Regions from separate parts of the Homo sapiens genome. Here regions 1 and 3 are each linked to region 2. Evidence: promoter capture Hi-C in human tissues and cell types (Jung and others, 2019). All regions are on one chromosome and are shown on one strand. Each heading gives the region's core, a stretch centred on a gene start or on the middle of the fragment in contact. The rest is flanking DNA. Distances are from core to core; before and after follow the strand shown. Region 1 overlaps TRABD2B (TraB domain containing 2B). Region 2 holds the start of FOXD2 (forkhead box D2). Region 3 overlaps TRABD2B (TraB domain containing 2B).

Evidence for each region. Contacts are between HindIII fragments. The study calls those that stand out against the background at their distance.
Region 1: a fragment that was not itself captured here is called in contact with the fragment with the promoter of FOXD2 in region 2 in 1 of the 25 tissues and cell types used here (pancreas).
Region 3: a fragment that was not itself captured here is called in contact with the fragment with the promoter of FOXD2 in region 2 in 1 of the 25 tissues and cell types used here (heart right ventricle).

Annotation. Positions count from the first base shown.
Region 1 is chr1:47,787,236-47,791,341 of GRCh38, reverse strand. The region is part of intron 4 of TRABD2B (TraB domain containing 2B); the gene reads left to right. Among named protein-coding and RNA genes, the nearest start is that of LINC01738, 100 kb to the right of the region's middle. The HindIII fragment of the contact is 8,311 bases long and covers 1-4,106 here.
Region 2 is chr1:47,435,446-47,439,585 of GRCh38, reverse strand. It overlaps FOXD2 (forkhead box D2), which reads right to left and starts at 1,542. Exons shown (of 1, transcript NM_004474.4): 1 at 1-1,542. The coding sequence starts at 1,450. LINC01389 (long intergenic non-protein coding RNA 1389) reads left to right here and starts at 2,269. Exons shown (of 5, transcript NR_126355.1): 1 at 2,269-2,296. RefSeq lists an enhancer at 1-124 and silencers at 1,313-1,492, 1,523-2,422, 2,903-3,062. The HindIII fragment of the contact is 12,527 bases long and covers 1-4,140 here.
Region 3 is chr1:47,934,879-47,939,304 of GRCh38, reverse strand. All of the region lies in intron 2 of TRABD2B (TraB domain containing 2B), which reads left to right. Among named protein-coding and RNA genes, the nearest start is that of TRABD2B, 60 kb to the left of the region's middle. The HindIII fragment of the contact is 4,707 bases long and covers 440-4,426 here.

The DNA of each region.
Region 1 (4,106 bases), core at 222-2,721, 350 kb before region 2:
GCCAGGTGTCTGAGCCAAGCCCCTGCTGGGGGCTCTTCTGTCATTCCACGACAGGCCCAGCCTCAGTGTCCAGCTGAAGTTCCTGAAAGCTCTGTGGTTCTGGAGTCTGGATGGGGCCAAGCATGTGAAGGTGAGAGATTGAGCCTCCGCCTGCCTGGCCCCTCCAGTGCTTGTTAGGACCCAACCCCGACCCAGCCCAGCTCCAGAATCCTGCCCTGAGAGCCTGCGAGGACAGACAGGGATTTCCAGTGCTGACTGCAGTCTGGCTTCTCCTCTCTTCTGCTCTGAGGGGGCTTCAGTGCAAAGGGTAAGAGCTTTGGGGTCAGGAGGCCTGGGTGTAAAGTATGGCTCTGCCACTGTGAGCTAAGAGATGCTGGGAAAGCCATTTCACCTCCAAGGGCCTCAGTCCCTCATCTGTAAAACTGGGACAATACATCTGCCTCATGGGATTGTTCTGGATACACTCATTTGAGAACACAGTATTAAAATGCTCTTCCATGGTGGAAGGGTTCTTATCATAAAAGCCCTTACTATGTGCCAGCCACCATTCCAGGCTCTCTGATTACGTAACACCACGAGATGGATTTTAATGATACTCATTTTGCAGATGAAAACAAAGCCTCAGGGAAGATGAACGGCTTCCTCAAGGCCATGGAGGCAGACCTGCCATGGGAAGCCTGGCCTCTTGAGTCCCAGGTGTGGCCATTTCCCTTGCACGTGGTGCCCTTGCTGTATGCATACAAAAGTGTTGATGATTTTGTGGAAACGAGTGCCTGTTTAGCTGGTGCCTCTCATGAAATACTCTTAGCATCTGTGATGTTTCTGCAACCTGGCACTGTGTGACCTCTTCTAGAGGTTACCCTGCAGTTCAGGGCAGGTGGGGTGCAAATGTGTGACAACCTTGAGCAGGCCTGGGTGATGCTGGGGGGGCCCAGATGGAAGCCCTCCCTATCCAGGAGGTGGCTGTGGCCAGTGTGCAAGCCCAGATGTTCTGGAAGTAGCCAGGCTGTGGCCATGGAGGGGTGTGTCATCCAGAGGGGAGGAAAAGCCCATTTTCTGTCTGCTGAGCTCCTGTAGCTGGACAGGCTGAGCCTCAAGAGCCCCCCAAGATTTTCTAGTCCAGTTGCTTGTAGATGCAGGTCCTTGGGTTTCCTCTGGTACAATTAACAGAAAAATAAGTACAAGGTGGTGAATTCCTTGTTAGCTAAATTTATTCAATTTACAGGTTTATATTCTGAAATTATCTCCTTTCAACTGTGTTTGAAGTTAAAATATTCCTTACTTAAGAAAATTAAAAAGATGATGGTGGGAAGCAGATAAAAGTCTCAAAGTCCTCATTTGGCAAAATGAAAATCTGGTAATTGCATTGTTCTTCCCACTCACCTACCTTTTTTTTTTTTAAGATGAGAAAGAATTGAGCATGCTTGAAATATGAGGAAGAGAATATTCTAGGATGAGTGAGGCTGATGATACAGGAGAGAGGGGGGAAAAATGATAAGCCTGAGGTTCCAAGAAGGCAGCAAGGTGGGGACCAGAGCTTGGGTGCAGGGTTGAGGAGGACGCCTTGGGTGGAGGAAGACACCTCTTCACCTGTAACTGAAGGGAAGGAGGGAGGAGGCTGGCAGGCAAGTAATTTGGCAGCCAAAAAGGGAGCAAATTCTCAGCTGATGGCTTCTAATCAGAGCACCACTGTCTGAAGTAGAAGGTGAAGTCATCCACAGAGGAAGAGGAGAGAGAAGGGAGGATTCTTGGTTTGAAGAGGTGAGACTATTTGACATAAGAGAAATTGGCCACAAGAACTGACCAGGACAAGAAGTTAAAGATGTTTCCTCCCATGGGCCATTATGATTGATTGGTAGCACCTGCCTGGAACGTTATGGTATAAGATGATAAAGTCGCATCAGAGCCCAGCAGAGAAGAGGCCCTTATTGATTTGTGATGTCTGCTGGGGACCGAGATTAGGGCACATGCCAGCTACAAATCTGCTCTGTCTATGCTAGGAACATAGAGGATGCTGACTGCAATGAGGGCCCATGAACCTGCCAAGTCACGGGTGTAAGATTTTCTCCAGCAACACCAAGCAGCTGGGGTGTAAATGTGGATGTTGTCACCCAGGCCTGTGTGCTGATTTTATCCTAGCACCCACTGCTCAGTGATCATCCCATTGCATGTGAACTACTCCAGGACAGGGCACATACGCCTCAGAATTGCTGACACCTAGGAGATGTTCTGTGAGGACATACTGGACCAAATCACACAGAATGAAGTTCATTCCATTGAGTCAAGGTATCTCCAGGCCCAATTGTGGGGGTGGGGTCCAGTCTTATGCACTAGAAGAAAATTACAATTTTACCCTTAGTTCCAGGGAAACAGGTTTCTCAGGATATTTACTTGTTCAGCCATCCAGAAATCTTCTAGCATTCTTTTTTCCTGGACTAGAATGAGTAATGTAGGAATTAGAGGAACTGGGCTGGAGACATGAGCCGGACTCAGGGGTGGACCAGGTAACCTCTAGGGCCCATTCATTTCAAACTCTGAGAACCAGTGGTTATCACACACTCCGTCCCTAGCACGTGCTATAATCTGAGTATAATTCTAACTTCTGACATTCCAAAATCCTTGACCCTAACATGCTGTTGCTTTAAAGTTGCACAGCTCTAATATTCCAGCATGCTGTAATCAGAGCCTTCTAACATGCTAGCATTATTTGCTCCAGCCTCTCTTGGATTCCTTGGGAGGAGTATGGAGCTAAGAGCCTTCCAGGAATGGAAATCACTCTTCGCAGGACTGCTGTCACCTGCTCCACAGGGAGCAGAAGTCCAGGCAGAAGGCAGAACTTGAAGAGTTAAGAGGCAAGCAGTGTGAGCACCAGAGACAGAGAGGCTGGCTCCATTACTCAGGCACCCACACATTTGGCACATGCAGCCCCCAGGCTCATGCCAGCCTGTTTCTACCCCAGCTAGAGTGCCGCAGACCCCATAATCCAAAACACACCTGTGAAGCTGGGACACAGAAGCAGATCAGAGGTAAGCACCCAGGCTTGAGAGAAGGGAGAGATATAAGACCAACACACAGAATACCATTAACACCTTTTAAAATTCATAACGTTAGAAATTGCTCCCTAGAGAGTGGACACCATCCTGCTTGAAAAAATTCCCATATCCATCAACTTATATGGCCCTTCCACATCCTCAATTCCTCTTGGAGGGAAACAGGATGGTATTTATTATTCCATTTGGCTGGTCAGTAAATCCAAGTACAGATGGGATGTCAGAGAGTCTTAGAACTGAAGTGAAATGGTGGTCACATTGTCTAGGTCATTCTTCCTGATGACCAGGAAGTCATCCTGATCCCTAAAAAATCCATCCAGCTGTCACTTGGGCCCTCTGTTCTGCTGGGAATTCTTCTGCTGGGCCTTCCCTGATTTCCCTTCTGGGCTCCCATAGGCCTCCAGGATTTTGCTATCACAGCCTCTCTCATGCTCCCAGTCTAGGATGTCCACTCCCTGAGCACTAAGAAGGTGCGTATTACCCACTTGTTGAATGAATGAATGAATGAATGAATGAATGCACCAACCCTGAGGTCCATAAACAGAAATGCTGCCTGCTTCTACATTATCCCACAGCAAAACCCAGCCTAAAACCTACATCTTCTGCCCCCATGGTGGGAGACTGAGGGGTCCAACCACATCACATCTGCCTTTGGAAGCTGAGGCTAGATTGACAGGTGAAAAGACCTAAGGAAAGAGAGTCCCAGGTACTGCTGAGTAAACCATGCAATCACAGCTAGAGGAGGGGGAGTTTAGTGCTAAGCAGGAGCATTTGTAGGGAGGGGAGGCGGCAAGATGATTAGGTAGGGAAAAGCCAGAAAAGAAAGAAAATAGAGCAAGGTGAGAGTTACGCCAAAGACGTGAGGGTAGAAAGGGGATTCTGAGATCTTCTATGTGGCCTTCTCAGAGTCTTTCCTCCTCTGTCTGCACAGTGAGGGGCTTTAGACAGAGCTAGGTCCAAGGTCCCCTTTAGCCCCCAACATTCAGCGTTTCCACACATGTCTAACAGAGGTTTGAGTGACTGGCACTGAAAGGAGGCAGGGTAAGTTAGAGAAAG
Region 2 (4,140 bases), core at 293-2,792:
CAAACCGGGACCCTGAGGACAGCAGCGCGTCCCCGGGATGCGAGAGGCGAATGTGGCCAGCAACGGGAGCCAGGGCCGGAGCAGTCAGCATGGCCAAGACCTGGGCTTGGCCCCCAGGACCCGCGGCTGCCGCGAATGGCGGTCCCGGAGAGCCCTCGCCGGCGCCCGGGGGTGCTGCCCCGCCGCCACCGTGGCCCATGATGTGGTCTATAGAGAAGGAAGGCCTCTGCCCTGCCCCGGCGCCCCCGCCGCCTGCACCACCGCCCGCGTCCGTCTTGAGGCCCTGGCGCAGAAGTGCGGTGGGCAGACCCGCCGCGGTGCCGGCTGCGGGAGGACTCAGGGACGCCGCGTAGAAGGCTTTGGCGCAGCCCAGCTCCGCGCCCAGGAAGGCGGGCAGGCCTGCGGGGCCCGGGCCCGGGCCCGAGCCTGAGGCAGGCGCAGGAGCTGGGGCCGATCCCGCGCCTGCGAACACCGAGGCCGTCGGAGGTCCGGGTGGAGGCGCGGCGGCGCGGCCTGGGGGTACCGACAGCTGGCAAGGAGCGGCGGCGGCTGCCGCGGCGAAAGCGAAGGCGTGCGGGTGCGGGTGCGGATGCGGGGCCGGCCCCGGCGGGGGTGCGCCGTAGGCCGGGAGAGCCAGCCCGTAGCCGTAGCCGTAGGCGCCGTAGGCAGCGAAGCCGGGCAGGAAAGCGCCGGGATCCCCCGCCGCCGCGGCCCCGCCACGCAGCAGCAGCTCCGGGTGAGGGTGCGGGTGTGGGTGCGGCGGCGGCAGGGGCTGCCGCTTGAAGCGCTTGCGACGCCGCAGGAAGCTGCCGTTGTCGAACATGTCGGCCGACTCCGGGTCCAGCGTCCAGTAGTTGCCCTTGCCCGGGTTGCCCGGCTCGCGGGGGATCTTGACGAAGCAGTCGTTGAGAGAGAGGTTGTGGCGGATGCTGTTCTGCCAGGCGGGGAACTTCTCCCGGTAGTAGGGGAAGCGGCCGCTGATGAACTCGCAGATCTCGCTCAACGTCAGCCGCTTCTTGGGGCTCTGCAGGATGGCCATGGTGATGAGCGCGATGTACGAGTAGGGCGGCTTCACCAGCGGGCTCCGCGTCGCCGCGCCCCCCGACGGCGGTCCCGGCCCGGGCCCCGCTGCGCCGCGGGCCGCCGCGGCGCCTGGCCCCGGGCTCCCCGCTGCGGCCGCCGCCCCCCGGGACGCCAGAGCGCGGGGCTCGCCGTCCGAGCAGCCACCAGACTCCTCCTCGTCCTCGGCTAAGTCTGCCTCGGCTTCCTCCGCGGGAGGCTCGTGGCCGTGGGGGAGCACGTCCCGGGGGGCGCGGGGCCCGGAGCGAGCTGGGAGCTCCCCCCCGCCGCTGCCGCCGCCCACCACGTCTATGTCTGCGTCGGCCTCGGACAGCGCGGCCGGGGAGCTCTCGGAGGACATGATCTCGCAGCAGCAGCTGCCCAGGGTCATGGTGCCGCTGCCGCCGCCGCCGCCACTCTCCGGCTCCGCTCCGGCAGCGGCTCGGGCTCGGCCGCGCTGCCTCTGGGGCGAGTGCGTTTTGCGCGCGGGCGGGGAGGGGGCGGGGGACTGAGGCAGGCAGGGAGGGGTGTCCCCCGGCTCCGCAGCGCCCCCTGGCGGCCCAGCTCGGCCGCGCTCACCTTCCAGGGCACGACCCGCCGGCGGCCCCCGCCACTACCCCGGGAATCCGAGCTGGGACCCGCCGCTGGGGCGCAACGGAAGGAGCTGAGGCTTTCCCTTACCTGGGCGGGCCTCAGCCCCTAGTCCCCTCGGGGTGGCAGTGGTTGGTGGTGGGGGATTGTCCCTCCCGCCTAGCGGCTGCCTAAGGCGGAAGAGCTGCGGGCTAGGGCGGAGCTCCCTGGGCGGGGTGGGGCGAGGCGACAGGGGCGGGCGTAGCGCCTCCGCTGAGGGACCCGGCGGGAACAAACCGCCGCCGCGGCGGGAGCTGGGCTCGAGTGGCCGGAGGCGGGCCCTTGTCTTCGCCGCCGCTCCTGCACCCTGTGCTCCCTGAAGCCGCCGCCTTCAGAACGCTCAGCCCCTGGATGTTAAGGCTCACTCGGGCGCCAGCCGCAGCCAGGGAAGTGGCGGCGGTCCCCACCCGTCCTCTCCCCAAGGCGGCGCCCGGGCCACCGGGCCGAAGCGCAGTGGGAGCGCGAGGCTGAGACGCCGGGACCCACGCCGCCCCAGCGCGGCCCGCCGGCGCCCACCCGAGCCCGCACGGCTTCCAGCCCGAGGGGAGACGCATTCGAGTGATCACCAGGAGCGAACTTGGCGCCCGCAGCCTTGGGCCTGGGAGAGGTGAGATTGCGGCGGCGCCCTCTCCTCCCTCCGCTGTCGGGCCCGCCACCCCTCTCCGCGCGGAGAGGCCGGGCAGAGCGCCGGCCGCTGTGGCCGCGTTCCCGGGGCGCGGGCCGGTCTACTGCTCCGAGTTTGCCTGTTCTCCGACCCTCTGGATCTCGGCATCCGTTTGTCTCAGTCTCTGTGACTATCTCACTCTCCGTGAGTCTCTGTGGAAACGGCATTTGTCTGGATGTCTGTTCATGGGTCTGGGAATCCGCTTAATTTCTCCCTCCCCTCTCCCTGGCCCCAGTTGCCCTGAGGACTGGACACCCCCCACCTTCCTGGCTCCCAGGGTTCTGGGCCCCACCGACAGGCGGCAGGACCTCCTCCGCCCCCTGCCCGACACCCCCTCAGTGAACCCTGACCTCCACCAAGTGTTGCCTTCATCTCTCAAAAGTCTTGTGCAACTAAGGTTGGCCCTGTGCCTTGTTTCTCGCTAGCCGGGTTCCTGCCCATCCTATTAGACCTCTTTCTCCCCCGGCCTCCCTCCAGGACCCAGAAACAAGCAGCTTCAACACAGATTGGGCCCATTTCAGCCTCTGGGGCACGGAAGGGGAGATGGGCGCTGGACGTGAGCAGGAACTGAGCGGATGCCTGGGCTGCTGCCCCGACAGCGCCGCACAGTGGCTAAAGCTCGGGCGTGCGAGGCCGGAATCCCAGCTGCCTCCGCTGTAGCAAGGCTGTGTGACCCTCATTAGGTGACTTCCCCGCTTCGGAGCCTCAGTTTCCTGGTCTGCATAGTAGTTAAGAGCAGCGACCTTAAGTCAGGCTCCTGGGGTTCCAATCCTGCCTTCACTACTTACCCTATCTGTCACCTTGGGCAAGGTTCTTTGCGCTTTGTTTCTGCCTTTGTAAAAATGAGGCTAGTAACACCTACCTCAGAACTGATGTATAAGTGTAGCCATATTCTAGGCCATTTAGGAAAGGGTACTGAGAACACTTTGCAGTTTCATCTAACAGCAGCCTCCAATCTACGGGATAGCCTGGTGTTAATCCAACTCTCCCATTCCACAGATGGAGCTACAGAGGCCCAGGATAGGGAGAAAGAACTCACCCAGGCTCCTGCAAAGAAATAGAACAGAGTTGGGTTGCAACCCTTTTCACAGAATCCTCAAAATAGAGTTCTTCATCCCCCCAAGGTAAGGGCAGAAAAAAATGGAAGGCAGGTCTGACTACTCATGTCCTTTGAGAGGAAGTCGCCTGGGCCCCCTCTGGGACCTCTGACCAAGGGGATCCATTTAATGTGCTGTTCCAGCATAAACTGTCATTGGAAAAAAGAGAAATCTCGTCCTCAAACCATGGACAGCAAATTGGACAGGGACTAGTAGCCCTGGAATTGGAATTTCCTGGGTGACAGACTGTCCGGGGAAAAAGGTCTTGGAGAGAAGCTTCTTGCATGAGTCCAAGGAAACTCACATACCTAGGGTTGCTAGATTTAGCAGATTTATTTTATCTGGCAACCCTACACATACCTCAAGCTTGCTCTTGACTACATGGATATCTGTCTCACACTCCCAGAACCCCACTCACAGATACCCCACACCATGGACCACACACCAACTCCAACCCAGCTCAACTCTGCTAGTATCTAAACAAGTGGAGAGAAAAACAGTGTTGGCGTCATCCTACTCCATTTCACCTTCTGAATGTCCTCATTTCTTTTTTTTCTTTTCTTTTTTTTTTTTTTTTTTTTTTTTGACTGAGTTTCGCTCTTGTTGCCCCCCTGCTGGAGTAAAATGGCCTGATCTCAGCAGCTCACCACAACCTCAGCCTCCCAGGTTCAAATGATTCTCCTGCCTCAG
Region 3 (4,426 bases), core at 1,544-4,043, 500 kb before region 2:
GCTCATTGAATGTCTTCTCTTCATTGTCATGTTGGCTTTTATTGGATTTTGACCTCAAAAACTTTCAAAACTCTCTGCCTGTGCTTTCAATCCCATCTTCTGCCTGCATACCCTAATCGAAAGTGGAACTTACTAATTAATGATAATTACAGAATCCTGGGGGTGGGGGGGTTGGCATTAGGAATTCAAGGCTCCTCACCATGTGGTCTCCGTGATCCTCGTTCTCTTCCTCATCACCGTTATCCCAGGCACCCTAGCCTGGAAAGCTCTTTCCTGCATGCCACTCATCTTTCCCTAAGCTGTTTCTTCCTCCTAATTCACACCCCTCTGTCAGTCTGCCCCTCTCTGTCTCTGTCTCTGTCTCTGTCTGTCTCATGCACACACTCTTACTTTTCTGTGTATGAGATTCAGAACCCATTAAAGTCAACCTCTTATCCTCCTCCTGCCAAGAAACTATCTCAAATCCCTGCTTCCAGAAGAAATGAGTCCTCTGGTTCTCAGCCAAGACCTTCTCTCCGGCTGTGTGCACTGTCTTCACCCCACAGGTCTCAAATGTTGTGTGCTTCCTGCTGGAGTTGAACTGAATCCAGTCCAACACCATCGTTTTAGACAGGGACACATGATTCCAGTAAAAGGAAAGTGGGAGATCTCTCTTCTCCATTTCCCATTCTCAATCCCAGAGAGAAGAATTCCTCTGGGATCCCTCCAGCTGTTAGTAAGCTAAAGTCATGGAGTATGCACTATTCTCAAAGCAGAGGAGAAAGATGCATTTTCCCAGTGTCTAGTGCTTCCAAAAAGAAGACAGGTTGGAGCAGATGCCTTCTACCACTGCTTCCTACCTCCCTATCCACCACTATGTTTAGTCCAGGACTTGAGACAGAAAGGACCATAGTTTTCAGAAAAACAGATGGACAGGTGAAAAGGTTTGTAGATGGCCATACTCCAGAGACAGATAGAGCTGGGACTAAAATAACCAGTGGTGGTTTGACTCTTTAATCCTGAGTTTACTCTTGCTTGGCCTCTCTGCTCTCCTTTCCTTCACCTTCTGTGGCCTCTCTGTGCCTGCAGCGTTGAACCCCGCTCACCTGTATAACACTTAAAAGAGAGAAGGGTCCTGCTAATGGACTATACATCCCTTTCTGTTTTCTAGTCTCTTCCAGGCCTGAGTTCCCTTTGGCCTCATCTAATTTCCCTCAGGCCTTGTTCTGTGGGCCTGTGCCGGAAGTTTGGTGGCTACAATATGTAATTTAGGCCCCATTTGCGGCTGGCAAAATATATCATGAGTAGTAGAACTGGAGAATCATAATATTGTTGGAGACCACTGTGGGATTGAGGTGGGGAGCTAGGAGTTTTTTCCCATATCCTCTTGGAACAAGGAAGTCATGACAGACATGTGCACTGCCCCTGCTTCAATCCTTCACTGAGTCTGGAGCATTTGATTTATCTCCCTGGGTATCGGGGTTGGAATGTTCCCCTCTGTCCTTGGCTGCAGGTGGTATGAGCTGAAGGACAGTTTGCATCCACAGGGCAGGAGGCAGAATGATTGGCCTTAAGAGACAATACCTTCACTTAAACATTGGGTGGCCCCACCTCCATGAACCCTACTCCTTTATCAAGGATCTTGGGTCTCTTACCTGTGACAGGAAGCTTGTTTTTTTTTTTCCTAAAAATTCTGTGAATGGTAGAAAAGTAAAAGTGTCAGGGCCTGCCTCTGACTCTCTAAGTCACCCTGAACAAACCTCTTCCATTTTCTGGGCCTCAGTTTTCTCATTTGTAATAATGATGATGATGGTGGTGATGACAATGATAGTGATGATGATGGTGATGATAGTGACAGTGGTGGTGATGATGGTGATGATAGTAGTGATGATGATGGTGATGATCATGATGGTAGTAGTGATGATGGTGATGATTATGATGGTGATGGTGATGATGATGATCATGACGGTGGTGGTGATGATGATGATCATGATGGTGGTGGTGATGGTGATGATCATGATGGTGGTGGTGATGGTCATGATCATGATGGTAGTGGTGATGATGATGGTGATGGTGATGATCATGGTGGTGGTGGTGATGGTGATGATCATGGTAGTGGTGATGATGATGGTGATAATGATGATAATGATGGTGGTGGTGGTGATGGTGATGATCATGGTAGTGGTAATGATGGTGATGGTGATGATCATGCTGGTGGTGGTGGTGATGATCATGGTAGTGGTGATGATGATGGTGATAATGATGATAATGATGGTGGTGGTGGTGATGGTGATGATGATCATGGTAGTGGTGATGATGGTGATGGTGGTGATCATGATGGTGGTGGTGATGGTGATGATCATGATGGTGGTGGTGATGATGGTGATGGTGATAATTATGGTGGTGGTGATGGTGATGATCATGATGGTGATGGTAGTGATGGTGATGGTGGTGGTGGTGGTGATGATGATGATGATTCTTATTTGTTGATCAATGTGTTGTAAATGGTTTCCACATACTTATTCCATAGAACATTCCAATGTGGCAGGTACTGTTATCATACTTATTCTACAGATGAGAAAACTGAAGCATTGAATGATTAACTTGGCCAAGATCACGCAGCTCATAAGCGGAGGAAACAGAATACCTTTGACAACAAGGAGAGTGCAATAGGTTTTTTTAAGCTTCCTCCAAAATCCGAAATATAGTGGCAAACTAATTTTTAAAACTTATTATCCTTTTTATGCCTTTTCCTTTGTCTGTACAGCACTCCTCTGTAACTGAAGATACGCTTTCCTAGAAGTTCTATCCCTTCCTCAAGACTCAGCTCTTCCACAAGCCTCTCCTGACATCTCTAGGCTTGGTAGACCTCCTCATGGTCTGTCTGCCCTTTGCCCTCATACCTGCTGGGTTCTCTGTTCACCTTTCCTGTTGTTTTTCTGCTCCAGCACCCTGTGAGCTCCTAGTTGGGAGTGGGGCAAGATTTTACCCATCTCTTTCCATCTGCCCTAATGTAGGGCTGCTCTTAGGGTGGCCTGTTATTTCATCCACACTCATTGTGAGTCTATAAATGATGAAGAAGTCAATTCATGACCTCAGCCCCAAGTAAACCAATCTCTTCTCTTTGATCATTGGTCCACCAGTACATCACACCCTTTGCATTCAGCTGAGTCTGTTGCTAAGAATGGCTTTCTTGCCTGACCTCATTTGAGAGAGAGGAGAGACCTCATAGTTCCTGAGTCCCTCCTGTGTGCCAGGTGCCATTCTGGGTGCTTTCCCATATGTTCTTCTGTTTACTACGCTTAACAGCCCTGCAAGGCAGCAGCTCTTAGCTCTATTTTTACATTTGAGTCTCAGAGAAGGGAAACAGTTTGTCCAGGATTGCACAGCTAATGAGCAGCAAAATTGGAATTTGAGCATGAGTCTGCCTTCCTCTAAAGTTGAAGCTCTTTTTTTCTGTGGCTTTATTTCCTGCATCCTAAATTACAAGACATAGTGGGATATTTGGGATGCGTGGGCATGAAATATCATATAAGAGATACAGTTTAGATATCTAAATATTGGGGTTTCTAGGTCATTCTGGTGACATAAGGAACTGATGAGATATGGTATTTAAAAGTAGGACTAACCTAGAAAATTCAGGACTTTTCAGTCCCAGTTGAGATATAGTGTTTTTTTCCTGCAGTCCTATCTTACTTGCTTGTTGAAGCCTTTGCCCATTGCTTTTTTGAGTCCTCTTAAATATCCTGCAGTAGGGCAGTAATAAGTGACTGCCCTAATTTTATTACCTACTTAGTGCACTAGGACTTTCTTTATGTGAAGTTTGCTCAGTGGTCATTTCCTGAGTACCCGTGTTATTGAGGTCAGATATGTCCCCAGAAGCTCTATTTTAATGAAGCAAGAGACAAAACAGCCTGTTGCAATACAGTGACGACGGGTGCGAACACATGTGGTGTAAGGCTTAAATTTTGGGTTGGAATCTTCTGAATTTAAGTCCAGCTCCATTATTTGGCAGTTGTTTGACCTTAAGCAACTCCCTTAACCTCTCTGAGCTTTTGTTCCCTAGTCTGTCAAATGTGGATAAGGATAGTGCCTTTCTCCCAGGGATGAGGTGAAAAATAGATAAGGTACATGGTGCCTGGCAAAGAGGAAGCCCTCAGTAAATAGTAGGTGTAATTATGATTATGGTGTGCCATGCTAGAAGAGATTTACAGGGAGTAGAGACTACTTGTCTACCTGCGGGTGGGAGGCTGTGGGTGTCAGAGCAGGCTTCTTGCAGGATGCCAAAGCTGCCTCCTGAGGCATGAGTAGGAATTTTCCAGGTGGATAAAGAGAGGGCATTAGCAGGGTTGGACAGTGTTTTTCGGAGGCCCCTTTCACTGTGACTGTATCACCTGCTGCTTCCAACTCGGACTCTGCCTTGCATTTTGAGAGGAAGGGAGTAGGC